Regions from separate parts of the Homo sapiens genome. Here regions 1 and 2 are each linked to region 3. The links are contacts of gene promoters, found by promoter capture Hi-C in blood cells and fetal thymus (Javierre and others, 2016). All regions are on one chromosome and are shown on one strand. Each heading gives the region's core, a stretch centred on a gene start or on the middle of the fragment in contact. The rest is flanking DNA. Distances are from core to core; before and after follow the strand shown.

Evidence for each region. Contacts are between HindIII fragments. The CHiCAGO score rates a contact against its expected background, and 5 or more counts as called.
Region 1: a contact is called between a fragment that was not itself captured here and the fragment with the promoter of OSBPL10 in region 3, in 1 of 17 cell types (endothelial precursors). The highest score is 6.5, in endothelial precursors.
Region 2: a contact is called between a fragment that was not itself captured here and the fragment with the promoter of OSBPL10 in region 3, in 1 of 17 cell types (endothelial precursors). The highest score is 6.3, in endothelial precursors.

What each region holds. Positions count from the first base shown.
Region 1 is chr3:31,785,178-31,789,923 of GRCh38, reverse strand. The region is part of intron 4 of OSBPL10 (oxysterol binding protein like 10); the gene reads left to right. Among named protein-coding and RNA genes, the nearest start is that of OSBPL10-AS1, 83 kb to the right of the region's middle. The HindIII fragment of the contact is 3,178 bases long and covers 472-3,649 here.
Region 2 is chr3:31,765,985-31,770,282 of GRCh38, reverse strand. The region is part of intron 4 of OSBPL10 (oxysterol binding protein like 10); the gene reads left to right. Among named protein-coding and RNA genes, the nearest start is that of OSBPL10-AS1, 64 kb to the right of the region's middle. The HindIII fragment of the contact is 1,000 bases long and covers 1,804-2,803 here.
Region 3 is chr3:31,979,297-31,984,200 of GRCh38, reverse strand. OSBPL10 (oxysterol binding protein like 10) reads left to right here and starts at 2,939. Exons shown (of 12, transcript NM_017784.5): 1 at 2,939-3,302. The coding sequence starts at 3,022. It overlaps ZNF860 (zinc finger protein 860), which reads right to left and starts at 2,451. Exons shown (of 2, transcript NM_001137674.3): 1 at 2,299-2,451. RefSeq lists a silencer at 3,180-3,249 and an enhancer at 4,804-4,853. The HindIII fragment of the contact is 3,310 bases long and covers 1,870-4,904 here.

The DNA.
Region 1 (4,746 bases), core at 811-3,310, 190 kb after region 3:
CAAAGTAGTATATAAATGTGGCAGGTTTAGTAAAAGAGTTGCAAATGTATACACCATACAACTCAGGTTACAAGGAAGAAGTATCCTCTTTATTTTTGGTGCATAGTCCAGTCATCCTCATGATCCCTAACCCCAAGGAGAGAGGAAAGAACCTTGCAGAGGGAGAGTCTTAGTCTCTTCTAGCCTGATGGTCCTCCTACGATGTGGCCTGGCCTCCGTTGCCTATGGTGCTGTGTACCTGCTGACTTGCAGCTCCATCCTGATCTGCTCCCCCTGCCTGGGCTCTTGCCCTCACGGTATCTTTCTTGAGGCAGTGCCCCTGCCTGGCAGTGCTCCCGGCTCTGCACTTGGTCCCCCACCACTTCTTTCACAGGCACATGCCGAGTTCTGAGTCCTTTCCTGGACCTTCAGGGACTTGTTTGCTCTGCCCTGTACCCTATAGGAAGAGTTTACAATTTAGACTTCTAAGCTTTGTTCTGGAGAACTTCAGCATCTGTTTTCTTTTCCAACAAAGGCTGACTAGACTACTCTTTCATGATGGACTCAAGGACCTGAAGAAAGACCCCTTGGTAGTGTCACCTACCCCTGCCACCCTAGAGTGCCTTTCATTGAATCTGTGCGTGAAGAGTTTTCAGACCACAGAATCTACAGGATATGGAAGAAAATATTTCATTAAATATATGTATGAAATAAACATCCTAGCCGGACATGGTGGCTCACACCTGTAATCCCAGCATGACCAACATGGTGAAACCCCTCTCTACTAAACATACAATAATTAGCTGGGCGTGGTGGCATGCGCCTGTAATCGCTGTGACTTAGGAGGTTGAGGCAGGAGAATCTCTTGAACCTGGGAGGCAGAGGTTGCAGTGAGCCAAGATCGCGCCACCGCACTCCAGCCTGGGTGACAGAGTGAGACTCCGTCTCAAAAACAAAAAACAAAACAAAACCAAAAAAAAAAAGAAAGAAACATCCAGGAAGGAAGTATACTAAAATGTTCATGATTTTCTCTGGATTAATGAAATTGTAGGTGAGTTTTATTTTTTCTTCCTCATGCCTTCTGTATTTTCCAAATTTCCTACAATGTCTATATAATGTTTTAATAATTCCATAAAGCCAATTTATTTTTATTATTATTTTTTTTTAGAGGCAAGGTCTCACTTTGTTGCCCAGGCTGGAGTGCACAGGTGGCATCATAGCTCAATGCAACCTTGAACTCCTGGGCTCAAGTGATCCTCCTGCATCGGCCTCCTAAGTAGCTGGAACTACAGGTGTACACCACCACACCTACCATACAGCCATTTTTAAATGGGAGTTTTTTCTTTTGGCTTCCTTGAATGTTAGAGAAAAGGGGCAAAGTTACTGATTAAATATAGTATGCATTTTGGATTACCTGTGATTTTTAGTCTTCCAGGCTTCTTTCTTCCAACTTTCCTATCCCACCCACCACCAAATTTGTAAAACAAGATCAAGAATTATATGCTTACCTGTCACCAGCAGATGGAATCAGGAAAAGGACTAAGTGGAATTAAGAATTTAGGAAAATGAGGCTTCTATCATTTCTTTGATACTTGTTTTGACATTTATTCCACACTGATAATAGTTATCTTCTATTAAATGACATTATGGCAAAATGTCATAGGATTTTATAGGATAAAATTTGGCACAGTAACTCCTTTCAGTATTCCTGTTCATGTTGATAGTTCTAGAAAACTAATTTCTTGTAACCCTGCCAGGGTCAGATTGCTGACATCTCTGAAATCTAGATACAGGCTTATCTCTAGACAGCTTTAAAATTTATTCCAGAGTCACCTTTTCTGGGAGAAAAAAAACAATAACCTAATCAATATGTCCTTTGGGAAGTATTAGCAACATTTTCTCATCTTTGTCAATTTGTGTAAATATTATTCATTTATTACATTTGTGATGGGCAGAATACTTTCTTTTTTACTTAATATATGTTTCCATTTATATTCTGTTTGTGCATTTTAAAGTAACTATATTCCATTTATATATTTACTTAAAAATACCAAATTCCTTATAATTTATTTAAATACTCATTCTGTTGTCGGGTATTTATGCCATTTGCCATTTAAAATCCTTATTTTGGAAATTATTCTGAACTGCACCTAGAAGGCATGTAGATTTCAAATTTCTTAGCAAAACATGATGTGAAGCATGTAGACTGTGAACCAATCTAGGACTGAGTGGTCTGTCTTTGATCTGCTGTCTTGCTGATCAACAGGGTTGGTGTGGCTGAACCGGCTGGCTAATCCTTCCCAAAGGACATATTGATTAGGTTATTATCATGTCTTTTTTTTTTTTTTTTGAGGCGGAGTCTTGCTCTGTCGTCCAGGCTGGAGTGCAGTGGCGCAATCTCGGCTCACTGCAACCTCCAGCTCCCGGGTTCAAGCGATTCTCCTGCCTCAGCCTCCCAAGTAGCTGGGACTACAGGGACCCGCCTCCATGCCTGGCTAATTTTAGTAGTTTTAGTAGAGATAAGGTTTCACCATATTGGCCAGGCTGGTCTGGAACTCCTGACCTCAGGTGATCTGCCCGCCTTGGCCTCCCTGCTGCGATTACAGGCATGAGCCACCATGCCCAGCCTATCATGTCTTTCGAATCCATTATATATGACTAAAAGGACCAGACCTTTTGTAGTTAAATCAATCCACAAATACCCCTGAAGCCTAATTTTTAGGACTTTAAAAGAATGAATATTGGCAAACCGAATTCCTTGTGATATTTGTGTATCCTTCGAGAAGTAGTAAATCATTCAAAATGCAAACAAACTAAGGGACATGAAGAAGTAAGGAGGCAACAACCATATCGTGACCGCTTATTCTATGCCAGGCATTGTGCAGAATACTTTTTCATAGTTGTCTTATTTAATTCCAGAACAACCTGGCAAACAGATAATGTTCTCTCTACTTTTGGAAATTGAAGACTAAGGAGTTCTTAAATCATTTGCCTGAAATTGCATCTAATAAGGAGGTGCGCTGGTTCAGATCTGTGTCTGCCAGATTAAAAAGCTGCTGCTGCTGGTCTGGCCCATGCTGCTCATATCTACAAAAGTCTAGCTCGTAGTAACTGAGAGTTACCTGAGAAGTGTGCCATGATGTATTCTAAATGGAACAAAGACTTAAGAAAACCAAAACCAAAACTTTTAAAGTGCTTAAATCATACAATATATATATATTTTCACCTGTGCTATGGTTTGAGTGTTTGTGTCCCCACCACAATTCATGGTGAAACTTTAATCTCCAGGGCAACAGCGTTAAGAGGTAGGGCTCTTTGGAGGTGATTAGGCCATGAGGTCTCTACCATCAGCAATGCCTTGTAAAAGGGCTGCAGGGAACTCTTCCCCTTCTGTCTGTCATGTGAGGACACAGCAAGAAGGTGCCATATGAGAAATGGGCCCTCACCAGACACAGAACCTACAGGCACCTTGATCTTGGACTTCCCAGCCTCCAGACTGAGAAAGTAAATTTCTACTGTCTATAAATTACCCAGTCGTAGGTTTATAGCAGCCCAAGTGGACTGAGATGTCTCAGGATGGAGAAGGCTTTTTAAAACGTGACTCAAAAAATCTTAAGCCAAAAACAACAAAAAAGAGAAGTATAAATTTGACTTCATAAAAATGAAAGCTTCATGGCCAAAAATATGCCATAAGCAAAGTCAACCTGGGGGCAAAGTTACAACTCATCACATAGATGAGAGACCAATTTCCCCGTTCTATAAGGGTCTCCTAAAATTGGTAAAGGAAAACCCAAGAACCCAGTGGAAAAAAGGAAAAAGAATATTAGAAGGTGGCTCACTGAAAAGGAGGGAATAATGGCATCCCTGGGTCTTTGCCTCTATCCTTGTCTGGTTCTGCCCAGGCTTTGGCACATGTGAGAATCATGGGAGTGATTCCAAAGTCTAGTTTGGGCTCTCCAACTTCTACGCAAGTTGCCTTTACCTACAGTGATGAGCAATTGAGGTGGAGTCTTTCTGGATCACAGTGAATCATAACTGTGGCCATTTTATGCCCAGAAGCTTGAGTCTCCCAGAATCCTAAAGCCATGCTCAGAGTAAGGTTCTCTGAATTTCAGAAAATTATTAAGGGAAGGCTAGGACTTTAGTTTGGGATTATTGTCTGTCAATGACCAGGAATTATCTAGTAACTTGCAGTACCTGAGGATAAGCCTTACAAGAATCCCAGAACAGAAAATGTTCAGGACTGAGAAACATGCCGAGGCAATCTAGTTCAGTCTCTTCATTTTATAGAATGAAAAGAAAAAAAAACGGCTCAGAGAGGTCGGTGGTTTGTTCAGAGTCACCCACGATGTTAATGGTGGAGTTGGATCTCCTGACTGCCAGTCCAAAACCCCTTCCATTGCGTTGTGCTTGTAAGTAGGCCTTGGGGCTTACTGAAACAGCTTTAAGACAGATGGATTCCAGTCTGGGAATTCTTCCTCGTGATTTAAAAATTGCCTGGCCAGATCTGGATTTTATCTTGGTTTTTCCTGTTTCCCTGTCTCCCTCCCACAAATACCAATCAAACACGCCTACCATGTGCTGTATACTCTTTTCTTTCAAGTTAGCGTGTTTTATTCAGTTACAGTTAGTTTATGTATATGTATACACTTTTCATTTTTATTTTGGATAAAATTGAGGTCATATATACAGTTTTATATTCTGTTTTTCCATTTATTACATTTTAGCTATTTTCTGATATCATCAAATGAAAATATGGTTCAAGAC
Region 2 (4,298 bases), core at 1,054-3,553, 210 kb after region 3:
AGTTGGTATAACCCCCGTCCCCCAACTTTTTTCCAGAGGAAAGGAAAAATAGGCATTTTAAAATTCAGTTTAAACCTGAACATTAGCCTCTCAGGACAGAAATGGGAAAATGCTCCCTGCACCTTTTCTCTTTATCTGTATCAGTAGTCCCTTGCCTGACATCCCTGAGACTACAAGTTTTGGTTTTTTTATTGATTGCTTTATCTTTGACCACAAGTTTCTTTGAGAATCTAATGAAAGTCAAGGACTCTTTCCTTAGGAGGAAAATGCTTCTAGGTACAGGCAGAACCTTGTCATCAAATATATTTTGTGGATATTCCCAAACCCCTTGAAAAACCCATTGAGATGGCATTGCAGGGTCCATAGATTTCAGAACCTTCTTAGGGGATCCATGAACTATTTTCACCATTTAAAAATACCTACAATCAAGCAGTTATCTGTTTCTTTGCTCTTGGCTGGAGTTAAGTGAGCATTTGCTGGGAAATCTGGTTTTCTTATGTAGACAAATAACTGAAAGCAAGAAGTGGGTGAGGTGGGGTTCCTTAGTGGTGAAAAGGTTGGGAACTGACAGCCTATATGGCGTCTCCATCTTCATCTGCCTCTCCTTTTCCCAAATCCTGTAGTCTGCACAGCTACAGTCTAACTCATATATTTTTATAATGAGTTATAATATAAAAATATATTTTTAATAAAATATATTTTTATAATGAGTTATAATATAAAAATATATTTTTAATAAAATATATTTTTATAATGAGTTATAATATAAAAATATATTTTTAATAAAATATATTTTTATTCTGTTTTTTTTTGTTTTTTTTTTGTTTTTTTTTTTTTGAGATGGAGTTTTGCTCTTGTTGCCCAGGCTGGAGTGCAGTGGCGTGATCTCGGCTCACTGCAACCTCTGTCTCCCGGGTTCAAACAATTCTGCTGATTCAGCATCCAGAGTAGCTGGGATTACAGGTGTGCACCACCACACCTGGCTAATTTTTTGTGTTTTTTAGTAGAGACGGGGTTTCTCCATGTTGGTCAGGCTGGTCTCAAACTCTCGACCTCAGGTGATCTGCCCGCCTCGGCCTCCCAAAGTGCTGGGATTACAGGCTTGAGCCACCGTGCCCAGCCGTCTGTTCTTTGATTATTTCATGCTTGCATGTTTTGTCTCCTCTGTTCATTCTTAAGACCATTTGGGTACCACTTCTTAAGGGCCCCTTTCTTATTTTCCATGGGGCTTGGCACTCAGTAGTTCAGTTGGCTTATTTTTCCGCGGCTGCCGTCTTCTCAGGAAAGTGCAGTGTCTGCCAAAGGTGTCCATTCTTTTGTCAGCAGGGGGCAGCAATGGAATGGGCAAAAATGGTCATTGTTCTTCAGATTAACTTTTCAGAGCTCTAAGACCCTTTAAGGGGTAATACCTACCCAATGTGAATGCTGAGGAAATTGTTTGTGAAATAAATGGAGCTTGATTAAAATCTAGCATATATTTCAATTCGAAGCAATATTATTGTTTTAACTAGAGGAATTGCCTTGTTTAGAGGTGTATGTAGGTTTGGGTTCCTGATGCGTTGGGGTGGCACAGAGGGTGAAGTATACAGTCAGAAGCCTAGGAAGGGAGCCAGTGAGCATTTCCTCAGGCTGCCGGTTACCTTTTATTGCTACTAAATTTACATGAACATAGGCCAATTTATCCCTGGAGTGAAATATGTATTTATGTTGTAGTGTGGAAAGAATTACATGTGTTTATTTTACATCTGGGAAATCTGAAAAAATATCTGCAAGAGTACTAATATTACACATTTTCTAAAAGCTTCGTTTAAAGGTGGTGAATTAATAGTACACAGATAAGTCTAAAGGGAGACAATTTCTAATTATTTTCTGAACTGAAGGAGAAAATGCATTTTCCTTCTATAAATGGTCAGATTAGCCAAAAATTGGGCAGCCCTGAGATAGGAGTTTGGTAGGACTGGTTTTGCAAGGTATGGGTCGCAAAAACCTCCCCTGATAAAAAGAGATGCCTACCAAAACCAAGGGGGCCATGAACGTGACCTCTCGTGGTCCTCACTACTGGTCATATGCTAATTATAATGCATTAACATGCTAAGAGACACTCCCACCAGCGCCATGACAGTTTACAAATACCATGGCAATGTCTGGAAACTACCCTATATGGCCTAAAAGGAGGAGGAACCCTCAGTTCTGGGAATTCCCCACCCCTTTCCCGGAAAACTCATGAACAATCTGTCTCTTTTTTAGCGCACGATCAAGAAATAACCATAAAAATAGCCAACCAGTAGTCCTCAGGGCTGCTCTATCGAGTATCCTTTACTCCTTTACTTTCTTAATAAACTTGCTTTTACTTTACTCTGTAGGCTGGCTTTTGAATTCCTTTCTACATGAAGCCAACGACCCATGTGACCTCCCAGGCTGAACCCAAATTTTGAGGTTCGCCTTGTGACAGCCCCGACTACTGACACAATTGTGATAACTGAAGCAGAGCATTTTCACCTGGAAGAAACAAATCTGAAGTCTGAGGCTAGACCCAGAGCCTGAAGGGTGCATTCAGTGGTTCATTTAACACTTAATTAGGGTCACCTTGCACTAGCCAGGTGCTATGGGAGTGGGGACATGGGCCTGCTCCCCAGACCTCAAGGCCTTACAGAAGAGAAGGGCAAGTGCTCACGGGAGGGCTCTGAGAGACTTGGGGCACGGGGACTTCTAAGTGGGAGATAAGGAAGGCTTCATGAAGAACTGAGGAAGGGCATTGGAAGCCTGGTAGGACTTTGACCATGAGAGATGGGGAGGAAAAGCTTTCTAGGCAGATGTAACCTGACAGGAATTCAAGAGGTGTCATGTTGCCCAAGTAGGTAGTGTATTTATGAGGAGGCAGGGACAAGATACAAAGCCACCGTTTGTGAGAATTACACACAATTATATTTTTTAGATCCTGTACTTTCCAAGTGGTTATTGCAGGGACCACAGTTGAGTTTTTTTCTCACTGGCTTAGTGATGGTCGTGGGAGAAGAACTTATTCCCATGAACAGAGGGAACTGTTTTAATCACAACTGCATGAGCAAAACACAAGAGGGCTCTTGAAAGAGAGAATTGGCTAATATTGTAGCAAAATCCAGAGCTCCTCAGTGGTAATTTTAATTTCCACAAAGTTAATGAAAGTATAGCCCTCCAGACCTGATATGAAAAAGTAGTATAACGTAGCTAATTGGGTTGTTTTCTAGACTTAGGAATCACCAGGGAAAGGCTAAGCTTAGAGAGGACTGTGGATTGAGCCCTCATCTCTTTTTAATCTCCTCTATAACCTGGCAGATTCTATTGGCTTTTCATTATGAGATTGTACTGCAAATGAAAGAAAGAGGAGGTGGGGTGTTCTGGGCTTGGTTACAGCTGGGTGTTTATCACAGGCATTTATAAGAAGTTAGTACACTTTCAGGCCCTCTGACAGGAAGCTTTGTAACCTGGCATTCATGTCATGCCAGCATTAAGTTTAGAGAAATGCTCCATTATTTGATTAATTGTCTTGGATAAAAGCCTTAACTGATGTTCCAGTTGACCTACAAATCTTGTGAAGTGAGTTTTAAAAGTATTTGTAAATAGTATGTATCCTTATAGCTCATGAATGTCAGAATTCTACACTGGGGCCAGCACAGTGGCTCATACCTGTAATCCCAGCAATTTGAGGGGCTGAGGAGGAAGATTGCTTGAGGCTAGGAGTTCAAGACCAGCCTGGGCAACATAATGAGACCCCATCTCTACCAAAATAAAAATTATCTGGGTGTCATGGTGTGAGCCTATACTCCCAGCTACTTGGGAAGCTGAGCTCAGAGGATCATCTGAGTCCTGGAGGTTGAGTCTGCAATGAGCAATGATTGTGCCACTGCACTCTAGCTTGGGTGGTGATGAAGTGAGACCGTGTCTCAAAAAAAAAACAAAAAAAAACAAAAAAACAAAAAAACTACATTGGGCCAAACATCACAGAGCAGTGGGCAGAGGGAAGACCCTATGTTGAAGTGGGGGATCTGTGTCCACATGGTGTGTCACATGGCCACTGTTTTCCACATCTCCAGTGTCAGCTGAGTGGGCTCAGGCAGGCATGTGACCCAGAGCCAATAACGTAAACTCACTTTCTCTCATCTGAATTAGGAGAAGAAACTAGAGGATTGGGTAGATTTGGCTCCAGCGGCTCTGCTGGGCTTTGTTGCAAGTGGAGGAAGTTGAGTTGAGCAAGAAGAGGAGAGAAAGGTGTGAAAACCAGCGACCATAGAGACCAGGGGATAGAGAGAAATAAGAGA
Region 3 (4,904 bases), core at 1,690-4,189:
GGGCATGGTGGCAGGTGCCTGTAGTCCCAGCTACTGGGGAAGCTGTGAGGCAGGAGAATGACGTGAACCCGGGAGGCAGGGCTTGCAGTGAGCTGAGGTCGTGCCACTACACTCCAGCCTGGGTGACAGAGCGAGACTCCAGTCTCAAAACAAAAACAAAAACAAAAACAAAAAAAACCCCTTAGGCTCTGAATTTTCAGGGAGATTGATTTGAGTAATAATACACTCCTGTGCTCCAGCTTGGCTGGCCCTACAATTGTTAAACTCTTCCTCTATTGCAAAAACCTGCATTGGCTTTTCCGGGTAACAAGCAAGATGAAACTGTTGGGCATTACAGTATGTATTTCAAATACTTTTTGCCAACTTATTATGTATTTTCCAAATTGTTTTTCAAACATAAAGACTTTTTCCTCTCCAAACATAATTCTGCAGGTACCTTTTCCCTATTTGCTATACTACGGTAGGTCAAGGAAAGCTTTCTGGAAGAAGTGACTTGTAATCCATAACTCCATGGGTGAGAAACACAAACCGGGTGAAGAGAGCAGGGAACAGTGTCACCAGCAGGAGGAACAGCATGTGCTTCATCACTCTTTCATGATATAGCCTCTACTTTCAGCACATCTGCTCCACTCACCTCTTGGACATTTTTGATCCCATACGGCTGGCTTGCTCCTGCCCCATCCTGGCCTTGACTATTCCTTTTAGCTTAGTTCCTTCCCCACTTGAACTGGTCTATCTCAAGGGTCTAATTTTTTAGTCCAAGGTGAGAATTTGTTGTGCTAGCTCATTCAGTCTTAGGTTGGCTGCATAAGGTGGAGTAATGGTGGCATAGGTTAGGTAATATGAAATAAAATGACACTTCTCCTCTTTTAGCAGGAGCTTAAGGTGGCAGTCTCCAATAAAAGGCATGTTGTTTTGGTACATAATGCTGACATTTATAGTCCAGTATGCACCTACCTTCCCACCTTCAGTCTGTATGTCAATGCAGGACTCAATGAACACTCATATATGATCAGTAAGTTAGCTTAGGCAAAGCTATGCTGTGGTAAAAAATAATGCTAAAATCTCAATGGCTTCAAACAAACATTTTGTGCATGTTACATGGCCAACACTAACTGGCTTAGGATCTGCTGTATTCCACACCTTCTCACTCCAGGACACAAGCTTAAGGAGAGTCCTTATCCGGGACATGCTGCTCTCCTGGGATAAGGAAAAGAGAAAGATGGTGGAACCATATGACTGCTCTTAAAGCTTATGTTTGGAAGGGGCATTCATTACTTCTGTTCACATTCCATTGCTCAAAGCAATTCCATGGCCAAGCCTAAGGTCCATGTGGAGGAAGGATACTCTTTCCATAGGAAGCGGCAGTAAATATTTTGAACAAATGAACATTCTTGCATAGTTTATTACAGCCGGTATCATTTGTCCCATTTTGCAGTGAGAAAACTAAGGCTAAAAGAGGTAATTTGATCAAGGTCATAGGTTAGAATTCAGCTCTGAATGGCTTCAAATTTGGTCCAGGCAAGCTCTTTTCAGATTTTTTTTTTTTTAACACTATGTAGGCACCTGGAATTGTAATTTACTCAGGGGCACAACCACTTCTCTTCAACTCCAGAAGCTTCTCCGTGCATCTCTAGAGCTAAACCACCCATGAAATCTTCCTGGAAGGATGTGAAGCTAGAAAGGGGTTGGGCTCGGGGAACTGTCCCTTTGAGAGCTGACTTTTCCATTTAGTAATTTTTTTTAACTCTTGAAGTATTTATCTGCTTGATGGGTTTGTAGATCCTTTGGACGGAGATCACCTATCATCTATCACCTTTTGTTTTGTCTGTGTGTGTGTGAGAGAGAGAGTCTGAGTTCCTCAAAGCTTTTTTCTAGGTAATTTTTGATACTTCAGATTACAATGGATATCTATATTCACAAAAAATATTAGTGGGATAGAAAGAGTATCTTTAGGTAGGAAGAGGGGCGCAGAAGTTACAGCCAACACAGAGAATCCTTCAATGTTTGTAAATATCTGTTAATTTCCCTTGCCTCTGGAGCAGTTTTCCCGGTTTCAGAGCCTCTGCTCCTAGGTGCACGTGCAGTGTGGTAGCAATGGATAGGTTTTGACTTGCCAGGTTTATGCGTGCCATTCAGGGCAGGGGATTAGGGTTAGGCCAGTGAGTGACCTAGGACACTCAATTTAAGGAAGCACTCGCACAAACCTGAGAGTTCGCGCGCCTCACCCCAGCCCAGCCGTGTGTCTGTTAAGCATTTATCATAATCCTGCTGCATGAAAATGCCCGGCGAGCTTACCTGTGAGGATCACCTGCCACTCCCCTCCTCCGCCAGACAACGCGGAGGGCCTCCCTGAGCTGTGACTTTGCTCCGCCGGTGATAATTTCCAGGTTACTGTGTAGGAGCGTCTGGCGCAGCATCGTGTGCGGAAGACCGAGAGAGGGAGTGTGCGTGTGAGCCTGTCAGGCCGGGCGGGTCCATATCCGGGTGGACCGGGTGGGTGGGGCTGCCCCTCCCTCCAGGTCCCGAGGTGGATAAGGGGTGGGGAGTGACGTGCAGAGATTCCCTTTCGCCCCTTCGGATCCAAGAGAGGGTGGCAGAAGGAATGCGTGGGTGACTTGGCGTGGATTTAGGGCGTGCCCACCCTGCAGATCGGCCTCCTAGAGTGTCCCGAGGGCCTGAGAGGCCGCAGGGACACGAAGGAAGAGAAGGAGGAACCCGAAGAGGGCTCGCCTAGCCGGCCACCCGCTCCGAACTTGCCCGGGAAACTAGTGCGGAGGGAGGGGCCGGGCCCTGGCCGCGGCGGGAGGAGGGGCGGCCGCAGCTGCATCCAGCCCCGTTGGCTTCCTTCCCAGCTCTCCTTCGCCTCCTCCTCCTCTTCCTCCTGTATGAGTCAGGCATTTCCCGGGGATTTGGAGCAGGCACGCGCGGCCCGGGCGTCCGGAGCTGTAGCAGCAGCAGCAGCCGCCGTGCCGGGGCCGCCACCGCGGCGGGCACCCGCGTCCCGGGCGCCCACGGACCATGGAGAGGGCAGTCCAGGGCACAGACGGCGGCGGGGGTAGCAACAGCAGCAGCCGCAGCAGCAGCCGTGCTACCTCGGCGGGCTCCTCGCCCTCCTGCTCTCTGGCGGGCCGGGGGGTCTCCAGCCGGTCGGCGGCGGCCGGGCTCGGCGGCGGGGGAAGCCGCAGCAGCCCGGGCTCTGTGGCCGCTAGCCCGTCCGGGGGAGGCGGCCGCAGGAGGGAGCCGGCGCTCGAGGGCGTGCTCAGCAAATACACCAACCTCCTCCAGGGCTGGCAGAACAGGTAACGCGCCAGCCGCCCGCGCCACCGCGCGCCGCTGTGTGTGTGTGTGTGTGTGTGCGTGCGTGTGTGTATGTGTGTCTGTGTATGTGTGTGCGCGCGCGATTGTGCCTTCAGCGAACCCAGTGATGCCTCCCAACGGTGCCCTTCCTGCGTCCCTGCTCCCCTCCAGGTGGGGTTCTCAGGATGGGGCGCGCCGTGGCTCCACCCCGGGACCGCACCGCAGTGGCGGGGAGGGAGGCGAGAGCCCTGGTTTTCTTCTATGCTGGCACCTGCAGAGACTGGAGTGGTGGCAGGAGGATCGTGCTGGTCCCCGTGCTCTGCTTGTCCGCGGTTTCCCGCACGCCTGAAGAATGACTGGGAAAGGGAGGCAGAAGGGGCGTGCTTTGTGCCGGGGTGAAAAAGCGTTAGCACGTCCGCTCCGATTACAGTAATTCTCTAAGTAACAGTTCATTTTAAAGTTTGGTGTTTCAGAACACCACCACCATCAACAAAAAACCTGCCACTTGTCATCCTGGGCGACTGTGCATACTCCTGCCCCAGTTTGTGCCTTGCAGCCTCCGATGTTTGTAATGGAAGTTTTGTTTAAAAACAGAAAGAGGCCGGGCGCGGTGGCTCACCTCTGTAATCCCAGTACTTTGGGAGGCCGAGGCGGGCAGATCACGAAGTCAGGAGTTCGAGACCAGCCTCGCCAACATGGTGAAAACCCGTCTCTACTAAAAACAAAAAAAATTAGCCGGGCGTGGCGGCGCGCCTGTAATTCCAGCTACTCCGGAGGCTGAGGCAGGAGAATCGCTTGAACCCCGGAGGCAGAGGTTGCAGTGAGCCGAGATCGCGCCATTGCAATCTAGCCGGGGCGACAGTGCGAGACTCCGACTCAAAAAAAATAAATAAATAAAATAAAATAAAATAAAATAATAAAAAGAAAGAAAAAATACCCTCCCCCTTTTAATATTAGTAGCAATTTACATTATTATCATTATTTCCTCTTCAGGTCCCATTTGAAGTTTCCTGCTCACTTCCCCCTTGCAGTTGAGAAGCCTAGTTATGGACACGTGGAAGGATGGGGCTGTCGAGGAAAGGGGCTCAGGAGGCACTTGGAATGGTGGTAGTGTGTGTGATCTGCCATCGTGAGGAAGACAAGAACAGATGTGGCACTACTGTTTACTTTTTGTTTTTGTTTTTTTTTTCAATTTGTTTTCCAAAAACAAGCCAGAGGGAAATACAAGTGTCAGTGCGAGGAGAACAATGCTTTTTGGAGAGGTGGTTGGTGGGATATTTTGTCCTGCCTATTTAACAGTCTCCAGATCTTAATAGACTTGGGGCTCTTAAGGATGTTTGTGAGATTTGAATTATACCCTGGAAAGTTGCTTATCTCTGCTGCATGGACTATATTACTTGGTTATCTCTTCCTGTAGATTGTTTGGAAATGTTCAGATTTGCTTCCATCTGAAACATATCAGCCAGTTATCTGCACGAAACTCAACTTGGAGGAAGAGGTCTTTTGAAGTATGGAAACTGAGTTGTTTCTATATTGATATTCTACATATAGGACTTTCTGAGTCACCTGGGCTTCCTGGGAGATGTGTTACTATGTTAGTGGAA